Linked DNA regions of Homo sapiens: region 1 is linked to region 2. The links are contacts of gene promoters, found by promoter capture Hi-C in human tissues and cell types (Jung and others, 2019). All regions are on one chromosome and are shown on one strand. The core of a region is centred on a gene start or on the middle of the fragment in contact, and the rest is flanking DNA. Distances in the headings are between cores, read along the strand shown.

Evidence for each region. The method cuts DNA at HindIII sites, captures the fragments that hold promoters and counts their contacts. A contact is called where the count stands out against the background at its distance.
Region 1: a fragment that was not itself captured here is called in contact with the fragment with the promoter of CAMKK2 in region 2 in 1 of the 25 tissues and cell types used here (spleen).

Annotation. Positions count from the first base shown.
Region 1 is chr12:121,715,307-121,720,213 of GRCh38, reverse strand. The region is part of intron 1 of TMEM120B (transmembrane protein 120B); the gene reads right to left. Among named protein-coding and RNA genes, the nearest start is that of TMEM120B, 5.0 kb to the right of the region's middle. The HindIII fragment of the contact is 4,558 bases long and covers 282-4,839 here.
Region 2 is chr12:121,292,870-121,298,244 of GRCh38, reverse strand. CAMKK2 (calcium/calmodulin dependent protein kinase kinase 2) reads left to right here and starts at 1,536. Exons shown (of 17, transcript NM_001270485.2): 1 at 1,536-1,607. RefSeq lists a silencer at 851-2,000. The HindIII fragment of the contact is 15,221 bases long and covers 1-5,375 here.

The DNA of each region.
Region 1 (4,907 bases), core at 1,311-3,810, 420 kb before region 2:
CACGCATTTGGGTGGCATGAAAACACAATGGTTAAGTGATTTGATGCTGCCATCAAGTTGCCCGAGTTCAGATCCAGAGCCTGCCACTTATTAGCTGAGTTATGTAATCCCTCTGTGCCTCGGTGTCATCAGCTGTGAAAGAGCTAGGAGATGAGGTGCATGCAGCAGGCTAGGCACTGTCACAAAGATGTGACATCATCAAGAATGTAGTGTGGGCCGGGCAAGGTGGCTCATGCCTATAATCCCAGCACTCTGGGAGGCCGAGGTGGGCAGATCACCTGAGGTCAGGAGTTCGAGACCAGCTGGCCAACATGGTGAAACCCTGTCTCTACTAAAAATACAAAAATTAGCCAGGTGTGGTGGCATGTGCCTGTAGTCCTAGCTACAGCTACTCAGGAGGCTGAGGCAGGAGAATCACTTGAACCCGAGAGGCAGAGGTTGCAGTGAGCCGAGACAGAGCCATTGTACTCCAGCCTGGACAACAAGAGCAAAACTCCGTCTCAAAAAAAAAAGAATGCAGTGTGGCCTAACATGCAACTGTGAACCACCCCCTTAAACTACCCCCGTTAGCAATTTAAGCAGTGTCCAATCGATGCCACTGTTTCCCTTGAAGAAAAAAACATTTTTTGAGACAGGGTCTCACTCTGTCACCCAGGCTGGGGTGCAGTGGCAGGATCTCAGCTTACTGCAACCTCCACTTCCTGAACTTAGGTAATCCTCCCACTTCAGCCTCCCAAGTAGGTGGGACCATGGGTGCACGCCACCATGCCTAGCTAATTTTTGTGGTTTTTTGTAGAGTCAGGGTCTTACTACATTGCCCAGGCTGGTCTCAAACTCCTGGGCTCAAGCGATCTACCTGCCTCAGCCTCCTGTTGGGATTACAGGCATAGGCCACTACACCCAGCCAACAATTTCTATTAGCCCCCCAAAAGGTGCCTGTCCAGCATCCCTCTCTCTGTTTTTTTTTTTTAAACTACCAGCTTTTTGATTTTCCTTCATGGGACCATCCCTCCCCAACTCGTTTCATGTAGTGTGGTGGCACTGATCCCACTTTTAGGCTTCAGGAGCAGATATGTGACCGTGACCTGGCCAATCAGTGCCACAGTGACTGGTTAAGTAAGGCATAGTCACATGACCCAAGCTGGGCCAATGAGAGTCAGCCCTGGGACGCTTGCTGAAACCACAGGGGGAAAGGATGCTCTGTTTCTGCCAGAGCTGCTAAGCTGACAGATGTCAGCTGAGGGCCACCTGGCCATCTTTGCCACAACATGGGAGGGACTGCCTGAGAATAATGCTGACACAGAGGAGAGAGAGAGAGACATCCACACACAGACACAGACATCACCTGAGCTCCTGGATCCAGCCTTGCCTGAAGCCATTTGCCACTAGACTTGACTCAATAAACCCTCTTTTGGCTTAAAACCAGTCAGACTGGGTTTTTTTCATTTGCAACTAAGAGTCCTGATAGTGCATTGTGTGAAAGCACTATATAAATGAAAAGGGACCCAGCAAGTTCAAAACTTTTCTTCTAGAGCTAAGAGTCTCAGGATACTTTTGGAGCCCACGGTATTAGTATCTGAGTTATACAGCAGGCATGGGTTCGAATTCTGGCTCCATGACTTTCAAGTTACTCAGCATCTCTTAGCTTCAATCTCCTCATCTAAAAAACAGGGTTGTCATTCATTCATTCACTCATTCATTTATTTTTGAGACAGGATCTCACTCTGTCACCCAGGCTGGAGTACCCTGGCACGATCTTGGCTCACTGCAACCTCCGCCTTCTGGGTTCAAGCGATTCTTCAGCCTCAGCCTCCCAAGTAGCTGGGATTACAGGAGCGAGCGACCAATGCCCAGCTAAGGTTTTTTTTTGTTTTTTGTTTGTTTGTTTGTTTTATAGTGATGGGGTTTCACCATGTTGCCCAGGCTGGTCTTGAACACCTAAGCTCAAAGTGCTCTGCCCTCCTTAGCCTCCCAAAGTGCTGGGATTACAGGCATGGGCCACTGCGCCAGGCCATGGGTTGATATTTAGATTAAATGGGATAATCTGTGTTTCACGCAGTTAGCTATTATTGTTATTGTTGTTGTTATGATTATTATTATTGTCAGCCTTTGTTTTTAGATAAAGAAACTCAACCTGAGAGAGGTGGCTCACCAAATTCAGATACTAGACAATGGCAAAGCTAGGACCTGAACTCAAGAATACTGATTCCCTGTGCAGTGTCTTTTTCTGCACAATCTGCTACTAAAGAAAGATGCCCGGCTGGGTGCGGTAGCTCACGCTTGTAATCCCAGCACTTTGGGAGGCTGAGGCAGGCGGATCACAAGGTCAGGAATTCGAGACCAGCCTGGCCAACATAGTGAAACCCTGTCTCTACTAAAAATACAAAAATTAGCCAGGAGTGGTGGCACACATCTGTAATCCCAGCTACTCGGGAGGCTGAGGCAGGAGAATCGCTTGAACCTGGAAGGCGGAGGTTGTGGTGAGCTGAGATCGAGCCACTGCACTCCAGCCTGGGCAACAGAGCGAGACTCCGTCTCAAATAAAAAAGAAAGAAAGACGCCCCACAAGCCAAGATAGAAGAGAAACAAAAGCTAACAGGAGTACTCAGGGCACAGATGAGCCTAGGGCAGTAGTTAAGAGCACAGACACTGGTGTTCAACAGCCTGGGTTCGAATCCTGGCTCCTGCACTGACAGGCCATGTGACCTTGGATAAGTGACTTAACCTCTGTAAAACAGAGATTCTAGGATCAATTTCATAGGGTTATTAATGAAATAATGCTGATCTTCTTGCTTCGAGCCTGTCTCCCTGATGTCTATTCTATACACAGCAGCCAGACGGATGTACATGTCATTAGCAGTAAAAGCCAAAATCTTTACCATGGCCTTCAAGGCCCTTGCATCACTGTGAGGTCAGACTTAGGGAAAAGCTGCTACGGGCCACCTTCTTCCTTGGCTGGGAGGAACGAGATCAGGTTTCCAGTGATGCAAGGCAGGAAATGCTCATTAAATTACTTGCCCTTGTGTCTGTAAGTGACCTTCTGCGGTCACGCCACAGGCCAGGAGACCAGGAGCACACTGGTCTCAGACTAGCACTCAACTCACCAGCATGCCTGAAACCCCAGCCACCCAAAAACTAAGTCCTCATGGAGACTCAACTGTGCCCCAGGGTTCAGGAAGGCCCTGACACATGCAAATCACAGTCCAAAGAAAACTGATCCTTTCCTCTCCTCAGTCCCAGAGATTACATTGGGTTTTCTTGGGGTGGGGAGGAGGGAAATTCCAAAGATCTTTCAAATCTTCTGGGGTCTGAGAATTAGGTTTGCTCTTTCTTTCCTTCATTCAAAAAAGGAAAGCCAGGTGCAGTGGCTCACGCCTGTAATCCCAGCACTTTGGGAGGCCAAGGCAGATGGATCACGAGGTCAGGAGTTCTAGACCAGACTGGCCAAGATGGTGAAACCCTGTCTCTGCTAAAAATATAAAAATTAGCCGGGCACGGTGGCGGGTGCCTGTAATCCCAGCTACTCAGGAGGCTGAGGCAGGAGAATAGCTTTAACCCGGGAGGCAAAGGTTGCAGTGAGCCAAGATTGTGCCACTGTACTCTAGTTTGGGCGACAGAGCAAGACTGTGTCTCAAAAAAAAAAAAAAAGAAAGAAAAAAAAAGAGAAAAAGAGGTAAGACACAGAGACATTACACATTGTTACACATCACCCCAGAATCAATGAGATACAAATATGAAACCCTCAACCCGGATTCTAAGGAAGATGTAGGAAAATTAAAATAGACCAGGATTTTCTAGTAGAAAAAAAATCCTTCCTATTGTTAAGCTTTCTAGTTCAGTGTGCCCACCTACCTACCTGCTGTTACCTGCTTGTTCCCCAACAAATCTCTTTTTTTTTTTTTTTGAGAGAGAGGGTCTAACTCTGTCACCCAGGCTAGAGTACAGTGGTGCAATCATGGCTCACTGCAGCCTTGACCTCTGGGGCTCAAACAGCCCTCCTACTCCAGCCTCCCTAGTAGCTGGGACCACAACCATGCACCACCACACCCAGCAATTTTTTTTTTTTACTGTTTGTAGAGACAGGGGTTTCCCTATGTTTCCCAGGCTGGTCTCAAACTGCTGGGCAATCCTGCTGGGAGCGGTCCTCCCAACTTGTCCTCCCAAAGTGCTGAGATTACAGGTATGAGCCAATGCACCGAGCTCCCAACAAATATCTCGTATCCGAAACTGCCCAGCACATACGCAATGGACATCCTACTTACCATATACAGAGTCCCAGAGCCTTGCATCTTGAGAGTTCAGAGCTCTCACATCTAACATGAAGGGGAACGTGAGAAGGCAGAGAGGGGCCTACCAATATTTAGAGAACTAAATTATGGCCCCAACTTTACCACTAACTAGCTGTGTGGCCCCCGTCCAGGGAATCAGCATGCCCAAGCTTCAGTTTCCTCATCTGTGAATTGAAGATGTAGATGGCAGTTTCTGCTCCGATCTATGATCTTGACACCGGGAGCCATCCCTGACTGGCCCCTGACCCAGCAGGTGACCACCAAAGCCTGCAGCAAGCAGGCTCCCTCTTCCCCAAAGTAGGATGCAGTCCCTTCTAGTTCCCCCATCATGAACCGAGCAGGAGGCATCAGTTTCCACTCACTCAGACCTTCTTCTACAACCCTTGCTGTGCACCAGGGAACAAAATCAAGAATTGATTCCCAATCCCTTTGTCCCTAACATACCTCAGCATCTGAGGACCAAGTCCTAAGAAAGAGTCAAACAACTCCTTTGCAACCTCTGCCTGCCAAGACTTGCTATCTAATTGCTGTTAATTGCATTAATTGCACAGCTCTTAAGTGTTGTTGCTGTTTTTTGTTTTGTTTTGTTTTTGAGACGGAGTCTTGCTCTGTTGCCCA
Region 2 (5,375 bases), core at 287-2,786:
ACAGAGAGACCCTGTCTCAAAACAAACAAACAAACAAACAAACAAACAAACAAAAAAAACAAAGAAAAAAAAATGGGAGTGGGCCGGGCGCGGTGACTCACACCTGTAATCCCAGCACTTTCGGAGGCCAAGGCGGGTGGATCACGAGGTCAGGAATTCAAGATTAGCCTGGACAACATGGTGAAACCCCATCTCTACGAAAAATACAAAAATTAGCCAAGTATGGTGGCCGGCGCCTGTAATCCCAGCTACTCGGGAGACTGAGGCAGAGAACTGCTTGAACCTGGGAGGCAGAGGTTGCAGTGATCCGAGATCGCGTCACTGCACTCCAGCGTGGGCGACAGAGCGAGACTCCGTTTCAGAAAAGAAAAAAAAAAAAAAAAAAAAGGGAGTCGGGGTGGAGCTCTCATTGGCTCGTTGCATGTGAGTGTCCCTACGGCCTAGAAATACAAGAGAAGCACATCGGAACGGGCTGGAAATCCACCCAGTTAACTAGAGGGCTTTGAACCTTTTATTAACTTGGAGGTTGACTCTCCTGTCAACTCGATTCCCTTTTGGCTGTTTGGCAGGGTCAGTGAGACATCCCCTGGGTCGCTCGACCCCGTAGGACGGTTCAGGGAGCCCTCCAGGTCTTCGTTTCTCCTCTTCCCCGCACAGTGCTGTTATCCAGCTGGGGGATCCAACGCACACTTAAGGCTCCAGCAAAGTAAGTGCCAAAAAGGGGAGAATGGGAAGAATATGCTGTATTTCACAAAAAGCATCTAAGTAGCCATCTGGAAAAGCCAGAATGAACTTCAATGGTGCATCCAGGTGGGCTGGGGATGGGAGAGGAACGCCTTCCCCCAGCCTTTAGGGCCGGCCCTGAGCAAGTGGTCAGTCGGCAGGCAGCTGCGGAAGGGGGCTCCCCCGAGTCGGTGGTGGCCCAAAGTCCAGGCCGCATCCACCGCCCGGCGCCTAGCGCAGGGGCAGCAGCCGGGTCGCCACAGGAGGGGCCCCGGGTGTTCTTGCCGGCTTGGGGGAACTTTCCCAGGGTCAGCCCGGAGGCGCCCTGCAGCCCCGGCATTTGGCTAAACAAAGCAAGCGCTGCCGGCGCGGCCCGCCCGAGGGCGCCGCGGGAAGAACCTGGGCAGGTGCGCGCCGCGGGCGAGCGGGTACAAAGTTGCGGCGCCACCTCCTGCGCTCCGCGCCCCTCCAGGCTCTCCTCCCAGCCGCCTCCGATCCTCCCGGCCGGGCCTCTCTTCCCCCGTTCTTCGCCTCCTCCCTTTCTGCTCCTTGCCCTTCGCCTCTTCGCTACTTTCGTCTTTGCAGGCTCCCGCCTCCCCACCCCTCCCCGGCGCAGGGCCGAGCCGGCGGGGGCGCGCAGGGGGCGGTGCGCGGCGGGCGCGGGCGGTTCCGCTTTCGGGTTTCCCGCCGCCGTGGCCAATCCCCGCGCTGCCCGGGGCGGCGACGCGCCCAAGCCGAGCCGGGCGGCTCCTCCCGCCCCCGCCCCCCGCGCGCCCGCCGCCCGGGCGGAGGAGAGGAGCGCGCGGCCGCGCAGAGCAAGCTGAGCCGAGCCGAGCCGAGCTGGGGGCGCAGAGCGCGGGAGGCGGCGGCGGCGCGGAGCCCAGGTGAGCTGGCGGTAGCCGGGCCCGGGGCAAGGGACGCAGCCGCCGCGGCCCCGGGCGCCCGCTCCGTTTCCCTCTCGAGGCGGGGGACCGCCGCCGGCATGGCACACAAAGCCCGGAGGCTGGCCTGGGGCTCCCAACACGGAGGGACCCCACGTGCGCCTCCCCACGCCCCGCCACGTGGAGGGACACGGTCCCCGACAGCCCTTCCCCCGCGTCCTCTGGGCGCCCTGGGCCTCGGGATGGCCTCCTCGGCTGGGCCGCGCCCTGTCCGGGTGGCAGGGGCGGTCCTGGAGTTTGGAACCGGGGTCACCGGGGGCCGGGTCCGTCAGGGTTCGTGGAGGCGGCCTAGGCCCAGCCCCTCGCGTTTGACAGGTGGGGAAATCTGGAGCGTTCCGGGGAAGAGAGGACCAGCGGACTTGGAGCACCCCCACCCCGCAGCCTGCCTGTCTCGGGGCAAACCCAGGCCCTGGTGGCTTGGACACCAGGTGGCAGGACCCTAGGCCAGCAGTTGTGGGGACCTAGGGGACCTTTGGCTGTCTTCGGTCTGCCCTTTGACCACCCCCACCGCACCTCTTCTCTCAGCCGGAGCCTCACAGGCTTGGTCCTTCTGACCTAAATTCACCTCGGGGTTGCAGTATGCTGTGAATGCGGAGAGGCGTCCGCCTGACTCTCAGGGACACTGGACCCAGCCCCTCTCAGCATTGGGGCTCTGTGCCTGGGGTGCCACCCGACCCAGCCTTGAGCTTTTCCTGGCTTTCCCCCAGCCCCTGCACTGCCTAGCTGGGGAAGTGGGTGCTTTCACAGCTCTGCCAGCCTGCCCTCCTGGCCACTCTCACTTAGTGCTGGACAGGATGCAGCTCAGCCCCTCCGATCTCCCCGAGAAGGCTGAGCTTTGGGGAGGGCGTCTCAGTGCTATCAGCAAGAGAGGGATACCTGGCCTCCGGATGGGACCTGCAGCGTCCATCTCCCTACAGGCTACTTTTACCTTCCCCAGCCTGGTGTTTGGAGTCTCCACGCAGGGGATAGAAACTTCAGGTGCCCTAGAGCTGTGCTGCCATTTACCACTCCCCCTCCCCTAGCTCTGCCCCCAGAGGAGAGAGAAGAGGATGGCTTTATGTCCCCATAAGCTCCTTTGTTCCTTGGAGGAGGCGGGGGCTGCAACAAGGGGAGGGCTTTGGGGGAGTTAGCCACCCTCTTCCCTAATCACCCCACAAAAACATGCAGTTTCAGAATAAATAGTGTGCATGCCATGCAAATGCAGCTTTAGGGCAAGCCCCACATACCCCTTCCAGACTGCTGCTCATACACCCTTCCTATGGAGGAAGCAGGCATTGGTGACACACACCCTTCCTATGGAGGAAGCAGGCATTGGTGATGAGGACGCAAAACATATTTTTGTAATGAAGAGTAATAGCCATCATTTGATGAGCCCCTAACTTGGATAATAATAAGAATACTTATTTATTTATTTTGAGACGGAGTCTCTGTTGCCCAGGGTGGAGTGCAGTGGCACAATCTTGGCTCACTGCAACCTCCGCCTCCCGGGTTCAAGCGATTCTCATGCCTCAGCCTCTCCAGTAGCTGGGATTACAGGCGCCCACCACCATGCCTGGCTAATTTCTGTATTTTTAGTAGAGAAGGGGTTTCACCATGTTGGTCAGGCTGGTCTTGAACTCCTTACCTCAAGTGATCCGCCTACGTCAGTCTCCCAAGTGCTAGGATTACAGGCATGAGCTGCCACCTGGCCCTGGACAATAATAATAATAACAGTATTAAAAACTAACATCTATTGAGTTCTTGCTGCCTGCCAGATTCTGTGCTATGTGTTACATGCATTATCTCATTTAATGCCTACCAAATCCTACAACGTAGGGAATTTTAACCCCATAGTAGAGATTAGGAGACTGAGGTTTACAGAAATCCTGCAGTGTTGCTAGGATTTAGCCCCATTTTATAGAAGGGCTCAGAGAAGTTAAGTAACTTGCTCAGGGTCACACAGCCAGTGCAGGCATGTCAGGCCTTAGAACCTTTGTGCACCTGTTCAAGAGCAGAGACCCTGGCAAGGCTGCCCTGAGCTTCTTGAGGAGCCCAGGAGTTTGTTTTGTTTTGTTTATTCACTACATCAGTGTTTGCCGATGCAGCTCTATGCAGGGTCTGTAGTACTGCCCATCCTTAGATATGGCTAGTGGGCTGGTAGCTAAATATAGTCACTAATAACAATGCACTAGTTCTCATCCGGGGGTGGTCCCACCCTCCTGGCAGGGATTTGGGAAAGTGTGGGGGCGACTTTTGGTTGTCAAAATGATGCTAAGCACTCCTGGCTTTTAGTGGGCGGGAGTCAGGGATGCCTACTAAAGTGTCCTGTAGGCAGGCCAGGGCCACGACATAAAGAATCACCCTCCCCTGGCTGGGCGTGGTGGCTCACGCTTGTAATCCCAGCACTTTGGGAGGCCGAGGCAGGAGGATCACCTGAGGTCAGGAGTTCGAGACCAGCCTGGCCAACATGGTGAAACCCCATCTCTACTAAAAATACAAAAATTAGCTGGGCGTGGTGGCACACACCTGTAATCCCAGCTACTTGGGAGGCTGAGGCAGGAGAATCACTTGAACCTGGAAGGCGGAGGTTGCAGTGTGCTGAGATCGTGCCATTGCACTCCAGCGTGGGGCACAAGAAGGAGACTTCCTCTCAAAAAACAAACAAAAAACAAAAAAAAATCACCCTCCCCCAAATGCCAGCAGTGCCACTGTTGAGAAACACCACAAGGAATGAGTGCTGTTGTGATCGAAGGAGCACAGGGCACTGAGGGTTCTGGAGAAATCTCCTCAGACTGGTGTGAATCTGGGAGGCTCCCTGAAGGAGGTGTCATTTGTGCAGAGCCTTGAAGGATGGGCCAGAAATGGGAGATGGGATGGGAGTAGGAGGGGAAGGGGATAGGGTGGGGTGACCTAGCAGGGAACTTTGTGCAGTAGCCGGGGGTTTCCTCTTTGAGAACCTCATCCTAGATGGAAGATGAGTGGCCAGACACCACTCTCAGGGGAGAGGACCAGGCCAAGTGGGGCAGGCCAAGCCTGTTTTCAAGGCATTTTGGCTCAAATTTTAACATGGGCCACAGAATCACCATTATTCTATCAACTCATTTTATGGAAGCCTCTTTATATGAAGGGCTCAGAGAGGCTGAGTAATTTGCTCAGGGTCACCTGTGATCTTCTTCCCGCCCCAGCATACTTTCTTCTGGTGGTTATGGGAAACATTTCATTTCCTGATCCTGGGGATTTGGGGCAAATGCTATTTCAGATTTTCCTTTAAATCAGAGGGTCTTATATTGCTTATTGCTTTGCTTTGTTTCTTTTCTTTTCTTTGAGATGGAGTTTCCCTCTTGTTGCCCGAGCCAGAGTACAGTGGTGTGATCTCGGTTCACTGCAACCTCTGCCTCCCAGGTTCAAGCGATTCTCCTGCCTCAGCCTCCCGAGTGGCTGGGATTACAGGTACACACCACCAGGCCTGGCTAATTTTTTGTATTTTTAGTAGAAACGGGGTTTCACCATGTTAGCCAGGCTGGTCTCGAACTCCTGACCTCAGATGATCCGCCTGCCTCGGCCTCCCAAAGTGCTGGGATTACAGGCGTGAGCCACGGCGCCCAGCTTTTTTTTTCTTTTTTTTTTTCTTTTGAGATGGGATCCCACTTTGTTGCTCAGGGTGGAGGGCAGTGGTGCTATCATAGCTCACTGTAGTCTCCAACTCCTGGGCTCAAGTGATCCTTCTACCTC